Regions from separate parts of the Homo sapiens genome. Here region 2 is linked to region 1. The links are contacts of gene promoters, found by promoter capture Hi-C in blood cells and fetal thymus (Javierre and others, 2016). All regions are on one chromosome and are shown on one strand. The core of a region is centred on a gene start or on the middle of the fragment in contact, and the rest is flanking DNA. Distances in the headings are between cores, read along the strand shown.

What was found. The method cuts DNA at HindIII sites, captures the fragments that hold promoters and counts their contacts. A CHiCAGO score of 5 or more calls a contact.
Region 2: the fragment with the promoter of OR5AP2 here is called in contact with the fragment with the promoter of OR5M10 in region 1 in 7 of 17 cell types (neutrophils, fetal thymus, activated CD4 T cells and 4 more); the score reaches 10.9 in neutrophils.

What each region holds. Positions count from the first base shown.
Region 1 is chr11:56,576,360-56,579,262 of GRCh38, reverse strand. It overlaps OR5M10 (olfactory receptor family 5 subfamily M member 10), which reads left to right and starts at 1,542. Exons shown (of 1, transcript NM_001004741.1): 1 at 1,542-2,489. The coding sequence starts at 1,542. The coding sequence ends at 2,489. The HindIII fragment of the contact is 7,953 bases long and covers 1-2,648 here.
Region 2 is chr11:56,641,028-56,643,930 of GRCh38, reverse strand. It overlaps OR5AP2 (olfactory receptor family 5 subfamily AP member 2), which reads left to right and starts at 1,492. Exons shown (of 1, transcript NM_001002925.1): 1 at 1,492-2,442. The coding sequence starts at 1,492. The coding sequence ends at 2,442. The HindIII fragment of the contact is 8,469 bases long and covers 1-2,713 here.

The sequences.
Region 1 (2,903 bases), core at 293-2,792:
GTGTGGAGATTAGTATCCAATCAATAGAGGAAACCCATATTTTCATCAATTTCACTGGACTTTTCTATTCATATGTTAACATTTCATTGACTCTAAAATCAATTATATGCAAGCTCCTCTGATGTATATGTGAGAGCTAAATAAGCAATTTCTTTAGGGTGCAAATTTTTGAGCAATAATTTTTACAGTCATAGCTTATTTTCATGAAGAACTCAGAGAGAGTGGCTTGAGTTGGCAGCAAAGACTGCTTTTAACAATGTTCTGTGATTCTCTAACAATATTTTAATAAGTAGTTTAGTGGCATATAAATGGAGACAAAAAAACTTCACTCTCTTCCTTCAGGTGCTATAATTGTTTATTTACTGTTCAAATGTTGCATTCTCAGAAAAGGCTACTTTGAATAGTCATCTAAAAGAATCTCACATTCATTGTTCTTCACAGACCCAGCTTTTACTTGAAATTATAATATGTATCTTTCTCTGTGGGTTTAACCATTATTTCTCATATTATAATGTGAGCTCCATGAAACTGGAAAATTTGTTCACTCCAATAACCCCAGGAATTGTAATACACACAAAAAAATCAAGCTATGCAGTCAGTGTACATGAATAAACAGGCAGGTAAAATTTCAAAGTGAAAAAACAGTTCTTGGTTTTGTATATTCTTAGCCATATATCAAGCACTAAGTTTAACTAATTTAATGTTCACTGACAATCATAGGTTTCTGTTTGTTTGTTTGTTTGTTTGTTTGAGACGGAGTCTCGCTCTGTCGCCCAGACTGGAGTGCCCTGGTGTGATCTCGGCTCACTGCAAGCTCCGCCTCCCGGGTTCACGCCATTCTCCTGCCTCAGCCTCCCGGTAGCTTGGACTACAGGCGCCCGCCACTACGCCTGGCTACTTTTTTGTATTTTGAGTGGAGATGGGGTTTCACAGTGTTAGCCAGGATGGTCTTGATCTCCTGACCTCGTGATCTGCCCGCCTCGGCCTCCCAAAGTGCTAGGATTACAGGCGTGAGCCACCGCGCCCGGCCGACAGTCATAGGTTTTAAGTGAAAATGCTACCTTAATTTTTTTCTTCTGTTTTGTATCTGAAATAATAAGATATCAGACATGGAGGGAAACTGAAGATTGGACTTCCTACATTTATTTATTTAAATGATGCTAATATTAATATCTGATATTCATTTCTTTGTTTTTTTTGTTCCCTCACAAACCTTGAAAATAATTACCAAATGTAGAATTCACCAAGAAGACAAGTATAAATGCATTAATGTATAAATTTATAAATGTATATATATAAGAGACAGAAATAGAGAATGTGCCTGTGTGTGTGTGGGTTTGAGATACAAAAAGAGACAGAAAACACACACATATAAAGAGAAAACGTTGTGCAGAAATTCTGATGTGTTTATTGAAAAAAGTAATTGGTGCCTAGATGAATAGATGAATGAGTGAATGATAAATGGATGAAACAAATGCCAAATCTGGATCAGAGAGAATCCTCACATTCTTTGTCACTTTCAGTTTTCAAGAAATAAGAAGATGTTGTCCCCAAACCACACCATAGTGACAGAATTCATTCTCTTAGGACTGACAGACGACCCAGTGCTAGAGAAGATCCTGTTTGGGGTGTTCCTGGCGATCTACCTAATCACACTGGCAGGCAACCTGTGCATGATCCTGCTGATCAGGACCAATTCCCAACTGCAAACACCCATGTATTTCTTCCTTGGTCACCTCTCCTTTGTAGACATTTGCTATTCTTCCAATGTTACTCCAAATATGCTGCACAATTTCCTCTCAGAACAGAAGACCATCTCCTACGCTGGATGCTTCACACAGTGTCTTCTCTTCATCGCCCTAGTGATCACTGAGTTTTACTTCCTTGCTTCAATGGCATTGGATCGCTATGTAGCCATTTGCAGCCCTTTACATTACAGTTCCAGGATGTCCAAGAACATTTGCATCTCTCTGGTCACTGTGCCTTACATGTATGGCTTCCTTAATGGGCTCTCTCAGACACTGCTGACCTTTCACTTATCCTTCTGTGGCTCCCTTGAAATCAATCATTTCTACTGCGCTGATCCTCCTCTTATCATGCTGGCCTGCTCTGACACCCGTGTCAAAAAGATGGCAATGTTTGTAGTTGCAGGCTTTACTCTCTCAAGCTCTCTCTTCATCATTCTTCTGTCCTATCTTTTCATTTTTGCAGCGATCTTCAGGATCCGTTCTGCTGAAGGCAGGCACAAAGCCTTTTCTACGTGTGCTTCCCACCTGACAATAGTCACTTTGTTTTATGGAACCCTCTTCTGCATGTACGTAAGGCCTCCATCAGAGAAGTCTGTAGAGGAGTCCAAAATAATTGCAGTCTTTTATACTTTTTTGAGCCCAATGCTGAACCCATTGATCTATAGCCTACGGAACAGAGATGTAATCCTTGCCATACAACAAATGATTAGGGGAAAATCCTTTTGTAAAATTGCAGTTTAGGCCTGTGTTTATTTGTAATCCCTAAGTGCCTGTGGGGTAACAAACTGAAATGGAAAAACCTAGTGTAGTTATTATTTAACAGTATGGGCTCTTAGTAACCACTTTAGTTTCTTCTCAAAATTAACACTTTGAAGATTTAGTTTTTAAAAATAAAAAGCTTAATGTTGAAATTAATAATGTTTTATTTGTCAGAGATTCTATGAATATAAATTGTTTGGTTTCTAATAATTCTGTATGAAAATACTGGGTTTACTTACTTGGGGGTAAACTTTTAACTAACTTAGCCTGAGAGAAACTCTGAAAATCCAACCCCTTTGAATATTACTATCCATAGAGCCATAGTGAGGCTCCAGATAGGGTGGCTAATTTTACATTTTTAAAAAAATGATGCCGGGCATGGTGGCTCACATCTGT
Region 2 (2,903 bases), core at 243-2,742, 65 kb before region 1:
AGGATTTGCGTTAAATTGGAGGAGAATTCCGCTGGTGGTGTTTACATTTTGATTTGGAAGATCTAGTTTGGGCATCTATTCTGAATTTTCTTTTTTATTTCTTTTACTTTTCTTATCCTATGTTTGTCTTCATTACACCTTGCAAAGGGTGACTCTTATTTCCATTTTGATTACTTGGTATTAAATTATTCCCTTGATTAAGTATGGTGGCTGAAAAATTGCATGTGCTACTTCTGATGTTTTCTGGTTCTCTTGAGAACTTGTGAATGTGAGTATTAGAGATTTTCACTGGCTTGGCTACTTCTGCCATTTTTATCGGGGATGCCTACTCATTCTTACAATCTGATTCTCTAAATATTGGAATGAATTGTGGAAAATTACTATTTAACTGACCCTATTCTGTTCTCTGTAGATGTTTATTATGGAAAATCAGAGTGGGGTTCGAACTGTACTGGCTGTGTGGGAATATTCTCTATTTTCTTCTTTGGCCAGGCATTTTTAAGCTCTTCCTCTACCCCAAGAGATTCTGCTGTTTTTCTTTCTTTCTTTCTTTTCTCTTTCTTTCCTTCTCTCTTTCTTTCTTTCCTTTCTTTCTTTTTTCCTTCCTTCCTTCCTTCCTTCCTTCCTTCCTTCCTTCCTTCCTTCCTTCCTTCTCTCTCTCCTTCCTTCCTTCTTTCTTTCTTTCTTTGTTTCCTTCTTTCTTTCTTTCTCTTTTTTTTTTTTTTTTGGCACCGTCTCACTCTACTGCACAGGCTGGAGTGGTGCAGTGGTGCAAACCCAGCTCAGTGCAGCCTCAAACTCCTGGGGTCAAGCAATCCTCCCACCTCAGCCTCCTGAGTAGCTGAGACCACAGGGATGAGCCACCACACATAGCTTTTTTTTTTTTTTTTTTTAAATATTGCAGAGAGGAGATTTTGCCACATTGCCCAGGCTGGTCTTTAACTCTTGAGCTCAAGTGATCTGCCTTGCCTTGGTCTCTCAAAGTACTGGGATTACAGTTGTAAGCCACCAGGCCCAGCCCAACTATTTTTCTTGTCTGGCACTATAGATTAATTTTATTAACTTTCAATATTTTTATTCATTCTATTAGTACTGAGGAGGAATTGTAAGTGTCCTGAATTCATTCTATCATCCTTCTCCAGAAGTTGTGTCTGGAGGGTATGTCAGTATATATAAATTAATTTATTTATCACAAGTAATTATGACAGTCACATCTTAAGAATAAGTTATTTTAATTATTCAATAAAGAGTTAACTGTAGGAATGACCATAGTTAATACACACTAAATCACTTGCTTCAGTCATTAGTAGACAGCACATCTAGTACTACAAGTCTTTTGATTTGGCATCAAATCCAACATACCTTTTATTATGCTTTTCACTTTTTGCTCTTCTGTTAGAAGTTGTTTCACTAAAAATATATTATAGCTCCATCATGTATTCATCTGACTAAATTCCACTGTGCATCTTCTTTCTTATTGCAGCTCAAATGATGAGACTTATGAAAGAGGTTCGAGGCAGAAATCAAACAGAAGTAACAGAATTTCTCCTCTTAGGACTTTCCGACAATCCAGATCTACAAGGAGTCCTCTTTGCATTGTTTCTGTTGATCTATATGGCAAACATGGTGGGCAATTTGGGGATGATTGTATTGATTAAGATTGATCTCTGTCTCCACACCCCCATGTATTTCTTTCTCAGTAGCCTCTCTTTTGTAGATGCCTCTTACTCTTCTTCCGTCACTCCCAAGATGCTGGTGAACCTCATGGCTGAGAATAAGGCCATTTCTTTTCATGGATGTGCTGCCCAGTTCTACTTCTTTGGCTCCTTCCTGGGGACTGAGTGCTTCCTGTTGGCCATGATGGCATATGACCGCTATGCAGCCATTTGGAACCCCCTGCTCTACCCAGTTCTCGTGTCTGGGAGAATTTGCTTTTTGCTAATAGCTACCTCCTTCTTAGCAGGTTGTGGAAATGCAGCCATACATACAGGGATGACTTTTAGGTTGTCCTTTTGTGGTTCTAATAGGATCAACCATTTCTACTGTGACACCCCGCCACTGCTCAAACTCTCTTGCTCTGATACCCACTTCAATGGCATTGTGATCATGGCATTCTCAAGTTTTATTGTCATCAGCTGTGTTATGATTGTCCTCATTTCCTACCTGTGTATCTTCATTGCCGTCTTGAAGATGCCTTCGTTAGAGGGCAGGCACAAAGCCTTCTCCACCTGTGCCTCTTACCTCATGGCTGTCACCATATTCTTTGGAACAATCCTCTTCATGTACTTGCGCCCTACATCTAGCTACTCAATGGAGCAAGACAAGGTTGTCTCTGTCTTTTATACAGTAATAATCCCTGTGCTAAATCCCCTCATCTATAGTTTAAAAAATAAGGATGTAAAAAAGGCCCTAAAGAAGATCTTATGGAAACACATCTTGTAGAGCCATGTTACCCATCATTTGTTACGTAGAAGAAAATACATTTTCATGTTAACTGTATTCTCTGATTGTTTAAGCTGTTTCTCTGTGTTAAAGTAGATAATTTAAAATGAAGTATACTTTTTAATATCCTAGTATCTCATATATATATACACACACACACACGGGTCCCTTTGATGCACCAATACACTAGATGAAGGTTGGGACTGGAAAAAGTATCAAAACACTTGGAATTGGCTAATCTGGACTTAAGTTTTAATTTAAATATTAAGCTTATCTCAGTCTGAGTTTTATTATACAAACATTGGTGTCTTTGGGTTCTGGGCAAACAAACTGAGACAGAGAGATATTTTTAGGCAGAAAGTTTATCAGAGTGTTCTCACAAACAATATATAGTGAGGGGAGCAGGATTGGACAGAAGGAGTTGAATTGTGACGAAGACTGAGCCACTGTTACATGGCGTT